Linked DNA regions of Homo sapiens: all the other regions are linked to region 1. Evidence: promoter capture Hi-C in 16 types of primary human blood cells and fetal thymus (Javierre and others, 2016). All regions are on one chromosome and are shown on one strand. The core of a region is centred on a gene start or on the middle of the fragment in contact, and the rest is flanking DNA. Distances in the headings are between cores, read along the strand shown. Region 1 holds the start of PDP2 (pyruvate dehydrogenase phosphatase catalytic subunit 2). Region 2 holds the start of CARMIL2 (capping protein regulator and myosin 1 linker 2). Region 3 holds the start of HSD11B2 (hydroxysteroid 11-beta dehydrogenase 2).

The links. Contacts are between HindIII fragments. The CHiCAGO score rates a contact against its expected background, and 5 or more counts as called.
Region 2: a contact is called between the fragment with the promoter of CARMIL2 here and the fragment with the promoter of PDP2 in region 1, in 1 of 17 cell types (M0 macrophages). The highest score is 5.3, in M0 macrophages.
Region 3: a contact is called between the fragment with the promoter of HSD11B2 here and the fragment with the promoter of PDP2 in region 1, in 6 of 17 cell types (total CD4 T cells, naive CD8 T cells, erythroblasts and 3 more). The highest score is 7.3, in total CD4 T cells.

The regions. Positions count from the first base shown.
Region 1 is chr16:66,878,890-66,881,919 of GRCh38, forward strand. PDP2 (pyruvate dehydrogenase phosphatase catalytic subunit 2) reads left to right here and starts at 1,626. Exons shown (of 2, transcript NM_020786.4): 1 at 1,626-1,751. RefSeq lists enhancers at 1,340-1,419, 1,668-2,440 and a silencer at 1,900-2,079. The HindIII fragment of the contact is 2,608 bases long and covers 50-2,657 here.
Region 2 is chr16:67,643,563-67,646,592 of GRCh38, forward strand. CARMIL2 (capping protein regulator and myosin 1 linker 2) reads left to right here and starts at 1,582. Exons shown (of 38, transcript NM_001013838.3): 1 at 1,582-1,724; 2 at 1,978-2,069; 3 at 2,162-2,215; 4 at 2,456-2,518; 5 at 2,624-2,748; 6 at 2,864-2,955. The coding sequence starts at 1,685. RefSeq lists a silencer at 1,276-1,665. The HindIII fragment of the contact is 10,344 bases long and covers 1-3,030 here.
Region 3 is chr16:67,429,642-67,432,671 of GRCh38, forward strand. It overlaps HSD11B2 (hydroxysteroid 11-beta dehydrogenase 2), which reads left to right and starts at 1,480. Exons shown (of 5, transcript NM_000196.4): 1 at 1,480-1,872. The coding sequence starts at 1,608. RefSeq lists silencers at 1,149-1,198, 1,419-1,598. The HindIII fragment of the contact is 16,145 bases long and covers 1-3,030 here.

The sequences.
Region 1 (3,030 bases), core at 376-2,875:
CCGTGCTGAGTTAATTGTCAGTAGCAGGCCAATATAATGGTCAGTTCAAAGCTTAATGGTTTGTGGGAAACCACTAAAGACTTTAGGGCAGGAGGCCGGGCGCGGTGGCTCACGCCTGTAATCCCAGCACTTTGGGAGGCGGAGGCGGGCGGATCACGAGGTCAGGAGATCGAGACCATCCCGGCTAAAACGGTGAAACCCCGTCTCTACTAAAAATACAAAAAATTAGCCGGGCGTAGTGGCGGGCGCCTGTAGTCCCAGCTACTTGGGAGGCTGAGGCAGGGGAATGGCGTGAACCCGGGAGGCGGAGCTTGCAGTGAGCCGAGATCCCGCCACTGCACTCCAGCCTGGGCGACAGAGCGAGACTCCGTCTCAAAAAAAAAAAAAAAAAAAAAAAAAAAAGACTTTAGGGCAGGAATTTGAGGGTTTTTTTGGTTTGTTTTTGTTTCTGTTTTTGTTTTTTTTGAGACAGACTCTCACTCTGTCTCCCAGGCTGGCGTGCAGTGGCATGATCTCACCTCAGTGCAACTTCCACCTCCCTGGTTCAAATGATTCTCATGCCTCAGCCTCCCAGGTAGCTGGGACTACAGGCGCGCACCACCACTCCCAGCTAATTTTTGTATTTTTAGTAGAGACGGTTTCGTGATGTTGGCCAGGCTGGTCTCAAACTCCTGACCTCAGGAGATCCCCCCGCCTCGGCCTCCCAAAGTGCTGGGATTACAGGCAGGAGCCACCGCACTCGGCCTTGGAATTTGAGTTTTAGAAGTGTCATTCTGCCAGGCGTGATGGCTCACGTCTGTAATCCCAGCACTTTGGGGAGGCTGAGGTGGGAGGATTGCTTGAGCCCGGCAGTTTGAGACCAGCCTGGGCAACATAGAAAGACCTTGTCTCTACCCACCAACCACGAGAAAAGGTGGGAGGGGCGTCATTCTGGCTGCTCTGCTCTGTGGTTAGGACCAAGTCAAAGGTGGAGGAGGGAAAACCGTAAAATCAAGTGAGAGGCTTGGAATAGGGTGGCTGCGTCGCCGGATGGATGAGTGGAGAGAGATTTAGGAGATAGGATTTACAGCATTAGATAACTGGAAAGAGAGGGTGAGGGAGAGGAAGGAGTCAAGATGCCTCCCAGGGTTTTGGCTTGGGTCTCTGGGCAGATGGTGGGGCCATTACTGGGTTAGGAGAGAAGAGAAAAAGCAAGTTTGGCAGAAAGCTGAGTTTGGGGTAAGTTATGTTTGAGGCGCCTGGGGGCCTCCAGAGGCAGGTGTCCAGGTGGCTGGACATCAGGGTGTGGCGCTCAAGAGAGGGTTCTGGAGTGGTCGACACCGAAGTGGAGAGGAAGCAGTGAGGTGTTCTAACAACGGTGAGGAATTGGGGAGGCCGCTGGGTTCGGGGTATGCAGAGTGTAGCGGCCACGTAGCTGGCGATCTCAGGCACGTGACTGCCTGGTCCTGTGGCCCCGCGCTCGAACACTTTCAGCACCCAGGCAGGGGGTAAGGGGCGGTGTTGCCCCCTCCCGGGTCCCGCCTTTCTGCCCGCCTCTCATCCTCTTTAGCCATTGGGCAATACCTCTGTCCATCAAGGGCCCGCCTCCGCAATTGAGCCAACCAGGGCTGGCGGGAGGGCGCTTCCTTCTGGAGCTGGGTCCTGACTAGGGACCGCCTGGGTGAGGTGAGGACCTGGTGGCCGCAGTTGTGGCACTGTGCGCAGGCGCTGAACTGACCGGACGGAGCGGGCGGCTGTGGCCTCGCCAGCTGGTGAGAAGCGGGCGAGGGTCCGAGGTAGGGAAGGTAACGAGCGGGGGATGTGGACACCTCTTTCCCCGCCAGGCCTCGCCGGCGCCTGACCCTCCCGGCCTGCGGCACCGGCTCAGGTGACTGGGCGGAGGGAGAGCTGAGGTGAGGGGGCGGGTCCGCGGCGGAGAGGGACCAGCTGGGCCTACGACCACGGTCACCCCACTCACGTGCGCGCGCCACGTGGGCCCGCGGGCTCGCCGAGGACCCTTGGCTGCCTACCGGGGCACCCCACTAGCTGCTCTGGCCTATCGAGCACCCCTTGGAGCTCTGTGTCCCGACTGCACGCCCCTGTTTTACAGGCTGGCAAGCCGGGGCTCAGAGGCACCAAGCGGGTCGCCCGGGGGCACCCAGCTGGGGTACGGCCGTGCCGGGGTTCTAGGGAGATCGGTTTTGGTGGGCTCCGGAGTCCATGCACTTAGCGATGAGGCTGAAGTCAGAGATTTGAACTTGGGACCTGTCTGTTTTCTTTAAGGATGCAAGAGGGTTTGCGTCCTGGCTGCGGTGTATCACCCTGCACCGCTGCCTGCCTTGACTGCAGGGCCGGAGCGTCAGGCGCCCTCTGCTCCCGGACAGACCGCCCCCGCACCGACTTCTGCGGGGTGGGCTGGCAGGGGGTGGGGGAGTGAAGGGACGGTCCTCAGTCCTGGGAACTCTTGAGGTCCCGACAAATGATCTCGAGATCCCGAGGGCAGGATTCATACATGAAAAGCTCATTATAATGGGTCAAGGTTTTGTTCTGTTTTTTTTTTTTTAATTTAATTTAATTTAATTTAATTTAATTTAATTTATTATATTCCAAGGAAAAGTACCACCAGGGCTAGTGAAGGGACTAGGAAACTCGTCACCCCCTTGAGGAGGCAGATGTGAAGCTTTTGGAAATCAGTTTGGCAATGAGTCTACACCCTTGGACCTACTGACTCCTTGTTTGGGAAATAACTAGGATAAAACCTAAGTAGAGAAAAGGTTACTGCATAAAGCAGTACAGTTTGGTGGGGTTTTGTTGTTGTTGTTGTTTTTAAAGAGACAGATCTGGCTCTGTCGCCCAGGCTGGAGTGCAGTGGTGTGATCATAGCTCACTGCAGTCTTGAAATCTTGGGCTCAAGCGATCCTCCCACCTCAGCCTCTTGAGTAGCTGGGACTACAGGCACTTACCACCATGCCCAGCTAATCTAAAAATTTTTGTAGAGATGGGGCACTTGCTGTATCACCCAGGGTGGTCTTAAACTCCCTAGCCTCAAGT
Region 2 (3,030 bases), core at 332-2,831, 760 kb after region 1:
CTGCACTCCAGCCTGGGCAACAAGAGCGAAGCTCTGTCTAAAATAATAATAATAATAATGATAATAATAATAATAATAATTAGCCCAGGCATGGTGGTGGGCACCTGTAATCCCAGCTACTCGGGAGACTGAGGCAGGAGAATTGCTGGAACCTGGGAGGCGGAGGCTGCAGTGAGCCAAGATTGTGCCACTGCACTCCAGCCTGGACCACAGAGCAAGACTCTATCTCAAAACCAACAAACAAACCAAGTATGTCTCTTCAATCGGGGAGGCAGCAGGAACTCTCTGTGCTGCATCTTCTGCAGCTGACTCCTCCTTGTCACCCTTAGCTGTCATTTCACCTCCACCTTGCTGAGCTATGGGCAGGGTAGACTGCTGTTCCTTACCGCTTAAGTGGAGTTTAGATTGTAATAGAAGAAAAAAAATGCAGTCTCTTCCTGTGAACTTTCCAGAATCTAGGTCCTGGTCTTTGAGAGGGCAACAGGCTACCAGGCCCCACCCTATGACTGTCTGACCCCTCTCAGCCCTGGAGACACTGGCTTATTTCTCTCTCTCTGGCTGCCCCCTCCCAAACTCTCTCCAGCCTGGGGAGAAGGCAGACACAAGAAGACCCTCATGTACCTGGACGACTCACTCCGGCCCTCTATGAAGTGCTTGGGGTTCAGGGCTCACCTTAGCCCCAGGCTTCCCCCCGAAGGCTCCGGGTACACCCTCACCTTCGGCCCTGACCCCACCTCTGCGGCAAGGAAGGGCGTCTGGACCCATCAGGCTGTTTTTTTTTTTTTTTTTTAGACAGGACCTGGCTTTGTCACCCAGGCTGGAGTACAGTGGTGCGATCTCCGCTCACTGCAAACTCTGCCTCCCAAGCTCAAGTGATCCTCCCACCTCAGCCTCCCAAGTAGCTAGGATTACAGACACACGCCATCACGCCGTCTAATTTTGTAAATTATTTTGCAGAGACAGGGTCTCCCTATGTTGCCCAGCTTGGTCTCGAACTCTTTGGCTCAAGCGTTCCTCCTTCCTCGGCCTTCCAAAGTGCTGGGATTACAGGCGTGAGCCACCGCGCCTGGCCCCATCTGACATTTTTTCCCACCCATTCAAAATCTCTTGGATCCCTAACAGGGTCACGGACTCCAGGTTCGGAGCAACGGGCAGGACCTCCGGTGTTGGCAGAATTCGGGCGCTCCTTGCTGAACAGTCCCCCTTCTGCCAGGCGCCTCGTCCACCTCCGCAGCCTGGGCTTTGGAGGGGACCAGCCCCGGTGGGCCGCGGGGATCCCCAGGCAGGCAGCGTCCCCTGGTGTTCGCGGCAGGGACTGCGGGGCGGGGTGGAAGCCGGGGGCAAGGACCCGCTGGAGGCCCGCCACACCCGCGACCCTCCCGGCCACGCCACTGCCCACCCCGACGTCTACCCTGGCGGAGAAGCTCCTGGGCGACGGGGCGGGCGGGCAGGTGGGACTCGGCCCCCCTCCCACAACCCCGCTCCCGGGCAAGCTCTCGAGCCGCGAGGCCGGGGCGGGGAGGGGCCGGGCCGGGGGCGGCCTGGCAGGAAGCGGCGCGCACCTTCCGCCGCCGGAGGAGCAGGTGGCTGCCGTGCGGGTCTGGGCCCCAGGCTTCCTGTGTGCGCGCTCGTCCTCTGCTGTTTCCCGCCGGAGCTCGTTGGGCCTCCCCGGCCCGCCCGGCCCATGGCCCAGACCCCCGACGGCATCTCCTGTGAGCTCCGAGGTAAGCGCTGGCCCTTCCTGCCTTCTTGGCCGGGAGGAAGTAGTGCAGCCCCAAAATCAGAGGCCCACCCAGCGCCCCAGAGGGCCTGGTCAGAGGTCCTCCCTGCTCCCCAGGAGGGCAGGCGCCCCAGATCCTCTCCCCTCCTTCCTCGCTGGCCGCAGATAAGCCCCAGGGCCCCAGCCTGGCACAGACTGTGGGCACCAGTGGCTTCTGTGCAAGGACTGAAGTCACCCAGCAGGCTGCCCTTCCACAGGCGAGATCACCAGGTTCCTGTGGCCCAAAGAGGTGGAGCTGCTGCTGAAAACCTGGCTACCCGGGGAGGGTGCTGTGCAAAACCATGTCCTGGTATGGGGCAGGGGACAGAGCCGGGGAGGCGGCTGTGGCCCCACAGAAAGAGCCTCTTGCTCTGCCCAGGATATCAGACTGTCTTTCCCCAGGCACTGCTACGATGGAGAGCCTACCTGCTGCACACCACCTGCCTCCCGCTGAGGGTGAGTCCCAGGGCCTGGCCACACCCCCGCCCGCCAGCAGCTACCTTGGCAGGGGGCTGCATCTGCAGAGTGGTCCTTCTTGGCCTTGTGGGCCCTGACTTTGCACCAGCACTGGGCTCTGGGCAGCCGACAGGAGGGGAGTCCAGGCAGATCTGGCTCTGCCCCAGGCTGCCCAAAGGACTGGACTTCCATGAGGGCGGGGCTGGGGGCTTGGTCCCAGCTGATCTAGGCCCTTTCTAGGTGGACTGCACGTTCAGCTACCTGGAGGTCCAGGCCATGGCGCTGCAGGAGACACCCCCTCAGGTGAGACACCTAGTACCCTACCTGGGCCTGCAGCCTGGTCTTCATGCTACCACCATCACCTGCGCCCATGTGTGGAGCCGAGGCCTAGTAGTGCCCCTTCCCTAGGTCACCTTTGAGCTGGAGTCCCTGCGTGAGCTGGTCCTGGAGTTTCCTGGTGTGGCCGCCCTGGAACAGCTGGCCCAGCACGTGGCTGCAGCCATCAAGAAGGTCTTCCCTCGCTCGACCCTTGGGTGAGGCCTGGCAAATTCGAGGGGCTGGCAGGGGAGGAGGGAGTGCATGAGAAGGGCTGCTTCCCATCCCAGAGGCTGGAAGTCCTTTGCCCCCTTCTCCTTAACCCCCTACCAGGAAGCTATTCCGGAGGCCCACACCAGCCTCCATGCTGGCTCGGCTGGAGAGAAGCAGCCCCTCGGAGTCCACTGACCCCTGCAGCCCCTGTGGTAAGGGTGAAGGCAGAGCCACAGGCCTTCCAGCCTGCCCCACCTCTGCCTCCCCAGACCCGCAAGCTGGGGGGG
Region 3 (3,030 bases), core at 230-2,729, 550 kb after region 1:
CACACCCTCCTCATTCAAGTCCTGCCTCCCAGGTCTGGGGCTTGCCTGTCATCTGTCCTTAGGAGGAGGGATAGGTGGAGGCACAGGAGTGGCTCAGGGCAAATTGGTCCTCCACCCAGAGACTCTCCCTTTAGGTGGGTCTGGCTCCCAGCCTCCCCTGAGATTTCCCTGGCTCACCAGGGGGCTGTGTCTGGTGGCAGAGAGGGCTTTGGAGGAGGCATTGCCCTGAAACCCTGGCAGAGCCTGGGCACCTAAGAGAGAATGAGCAACAGGGCTAGGAAGTGTGACAGGGAGTCCACAACCTCCCAGGATCTTGGGAGGGCAGGGATGAGGCACTGAGCACGGCCTGGAAGCCCACGGGAAGCAGGGACCCCTCTGTCGAGGGCTACACCTACTGCTCTCAGCATCAAGCCTGCAGCCAGGTACTGGCACCAACTCCCAGTGCCTGGCAGAGCCCTGGCATGGATGCTAGGCACAGGGTGCCAGACACGGGGGTGGGCAGGGTGGGGGGCCACTGGGCCACACACAAGCATGGAGACCTTCACACACGCAGGCAGAAAAATCCACCCACACTCATACCACTTATTTTACCCCCTGGGGGTTCAGGGGAGCAAGGCAGGGACCACCCTGTCCTAGAGGCTGCCTTCACCGACGTCCCTCTGGCCTGGCTCTTGGGGTTGGCGGGGGTGGGCCATAAGTAATGGGAGACCTAGGTGCTTCCTCTGACACCCCACCCTCCACTGACCCCCACACACATACATTTGTGAGGCAGGAAGTGGGGTTGTGCGTCCCCAGGTTTAAGCCCTGGAAGGAAAGGGAAAGACGGGGCAGAGACTCCAAGAACCGGGAGCGGTCGTCCTGTTCCCCCGCCAGCCCCTGTCCCAGGCAGGTTTTGTGGCCGCGAGCTGCTCAGGGGTGAGCGCGCCTTAGGGTGTGTGCGCCAGGGACCTGGCGCAGCCGACCACGTGGGAGTGCGGCGCGTGTACGGGCGCGGGCGGCAGCGGCAGCGGCAGCGGAGACCGGGTGAGCACCGGCTGGTTCCTCGCGGTGTTCCTGCAGGCTTGGCGGCCGCGGTGGTGCGATCAGCAAAGGGCACCGGGATGCCGGTTGTGCGTGTCCTCAGGTGTCCCGAACAAGCGTGAGTGGCATGTGCTCACCTGAGCGCGGCGGCTTGGCGGCCCCGGGCGTGTGGGTGGGGGCGCGGCGGAGAGCTGAGGCCGGGCACCCGGGCTGGACCGACGGGCCCTCTCCCAAGCACCGCCCGCAGCCAGGCGGCTCCTCGAGCGCAGCAACTTTGGGACTTTGTTCCGGCTTTTTCCAAATCGAATCTGGTCGAGGGGGCGGGGCGGGGGGGGAGCACCTGCCCTGCGGGGGGTGCCGGGAGAGAAGTGAAGGAAAGCCCCGCCCCCGCCCCTCCCGCTCCCCGCCCTCTCCCCCGCCCCCGGGGCTCTTCATAAGCTCGGCCCGAGGGCGAGCAGAGAAAGCGAGTGTCCCTCTCGCGCCCCAGGCCGGTGTACCCCCGCACTCCGCGCCCCGGCCTAGAAGCTCTCTCTCCCCGCTCCCCGGCCCGGCCCCCGCCCCGCCCCGCCCCAGCCCGCTGGGCCGCCATGGAGCGCTGGCCTTGGCCGTCGGGCGGCGCCTGGCTGCTCGTGGCTGCCCGCGCGCTGCTGCAGCTGCTGCGCTCAGACCTGCGTCTGGGCCGCCCGCTGCTGGCGGCGCTGGCGCTGCTGGCCGCGCTCGACTGGCTGTGCCAGCGCCTGCTGCCCCCGCCGGCCGCACTCGCCGTGCTGGCCGCCGCCGGCTGGATCGCGTTGTCCCGCCTGGCGCGCCCGCAGCGCCTGCCGGTGGCCACTCGCGCGGTGCTCATCACCGGTGAGTGCGCGGGTCGCGGAGCGCGGGGACTCCAGGCTCGAGGGCGGGACTGGACACTCAACAGGACTGACTCCCCATGGGCACAGCCAAGGCGGGCTCCTCAGCGCAAGAGTGGGAGAGTTCTCCACCCCTGGGTGCAGGGAGCGAGCCAAATAGGGAGCGCCGGGCACCTCCCCAAGCCCGGGTTCACTACCTGCCGCTGCGGGGAGTGTTGGAGGGAAAGTGAGACAGGGAGTGGGCCGGTTCGAGAAGGAAACTGACTGGTGGCTGAGAAGAGGGAACCTCCTGGAGTTTGAGAGTTTATGCCATTCCCTTCCCCAAGAGAGCAGTCTCAGGGGACTTCGGAGGCCTTGAGAAGGGAGGATCGTTACCCCTTGAACTCTGCCTGACATCCCCACCTAAGATACCCATCTCCCATTCCTCGGGCCAGAGGGAAGAGCTTAGATGGGGAACTTCCCCACCCCACCCATCCCCCACTGGCTGGGATCCTTGGAGTTCAGAAAAGCTAGAGGTCACCGTGAGGGGCAGCTGGACATTCAGCTGTCTTTCTGTCTAGCCACCCACTGCCAAACTGCTGAGGCAGTAGTTTGGAGCCTACACCCAGCACCCCACCCCCAAGCCCTCCTGGTCCTCTGTGCCCAGGAAGGAGCTCTTAGAGAGCTGGGCTCAGGTGCCTCTGGCCGCCTAGCTGAGCTCCTTTGTCTGGAGCAGGGAATAAATCTGTCACCAGAGGGAGGGAAGGGGAAGGGGGGGGGGGGCTGGAGGCCCGCCGGAAGTGGGGAGGGGGAGAAAGGCCAGGGGGCACTGACTCCATTGCATCGTGGGAGGAGCAGCCTGGTCTCTCGCCAATACCCACGGCTTTGGACAGGTGCTCCAGGCTTTGTCCTTGCGCTGGGCCTTTGCTGGGGCAGCCAGCAACCTGGCTTCTCAGAGACCTCGGTCTAGTAGGGGCCCTGTGTGATCAGATGGGGCTGGGAGAATTTTCCGGAGGAGGAAATCCTTGAGTGGGGCCTTGGAGCATGAGTGGAGATAAGTGGAGTATGAAAGGGATCTCGGATCAGAGAAAGGATGTGGGACAAAGGCTTAAGGCAGGAGTACACACGGTCTCTGTAGGGGACAGCCAGTCTGGGTGTGGGGGTGGGGAGAAGGGGATATGAG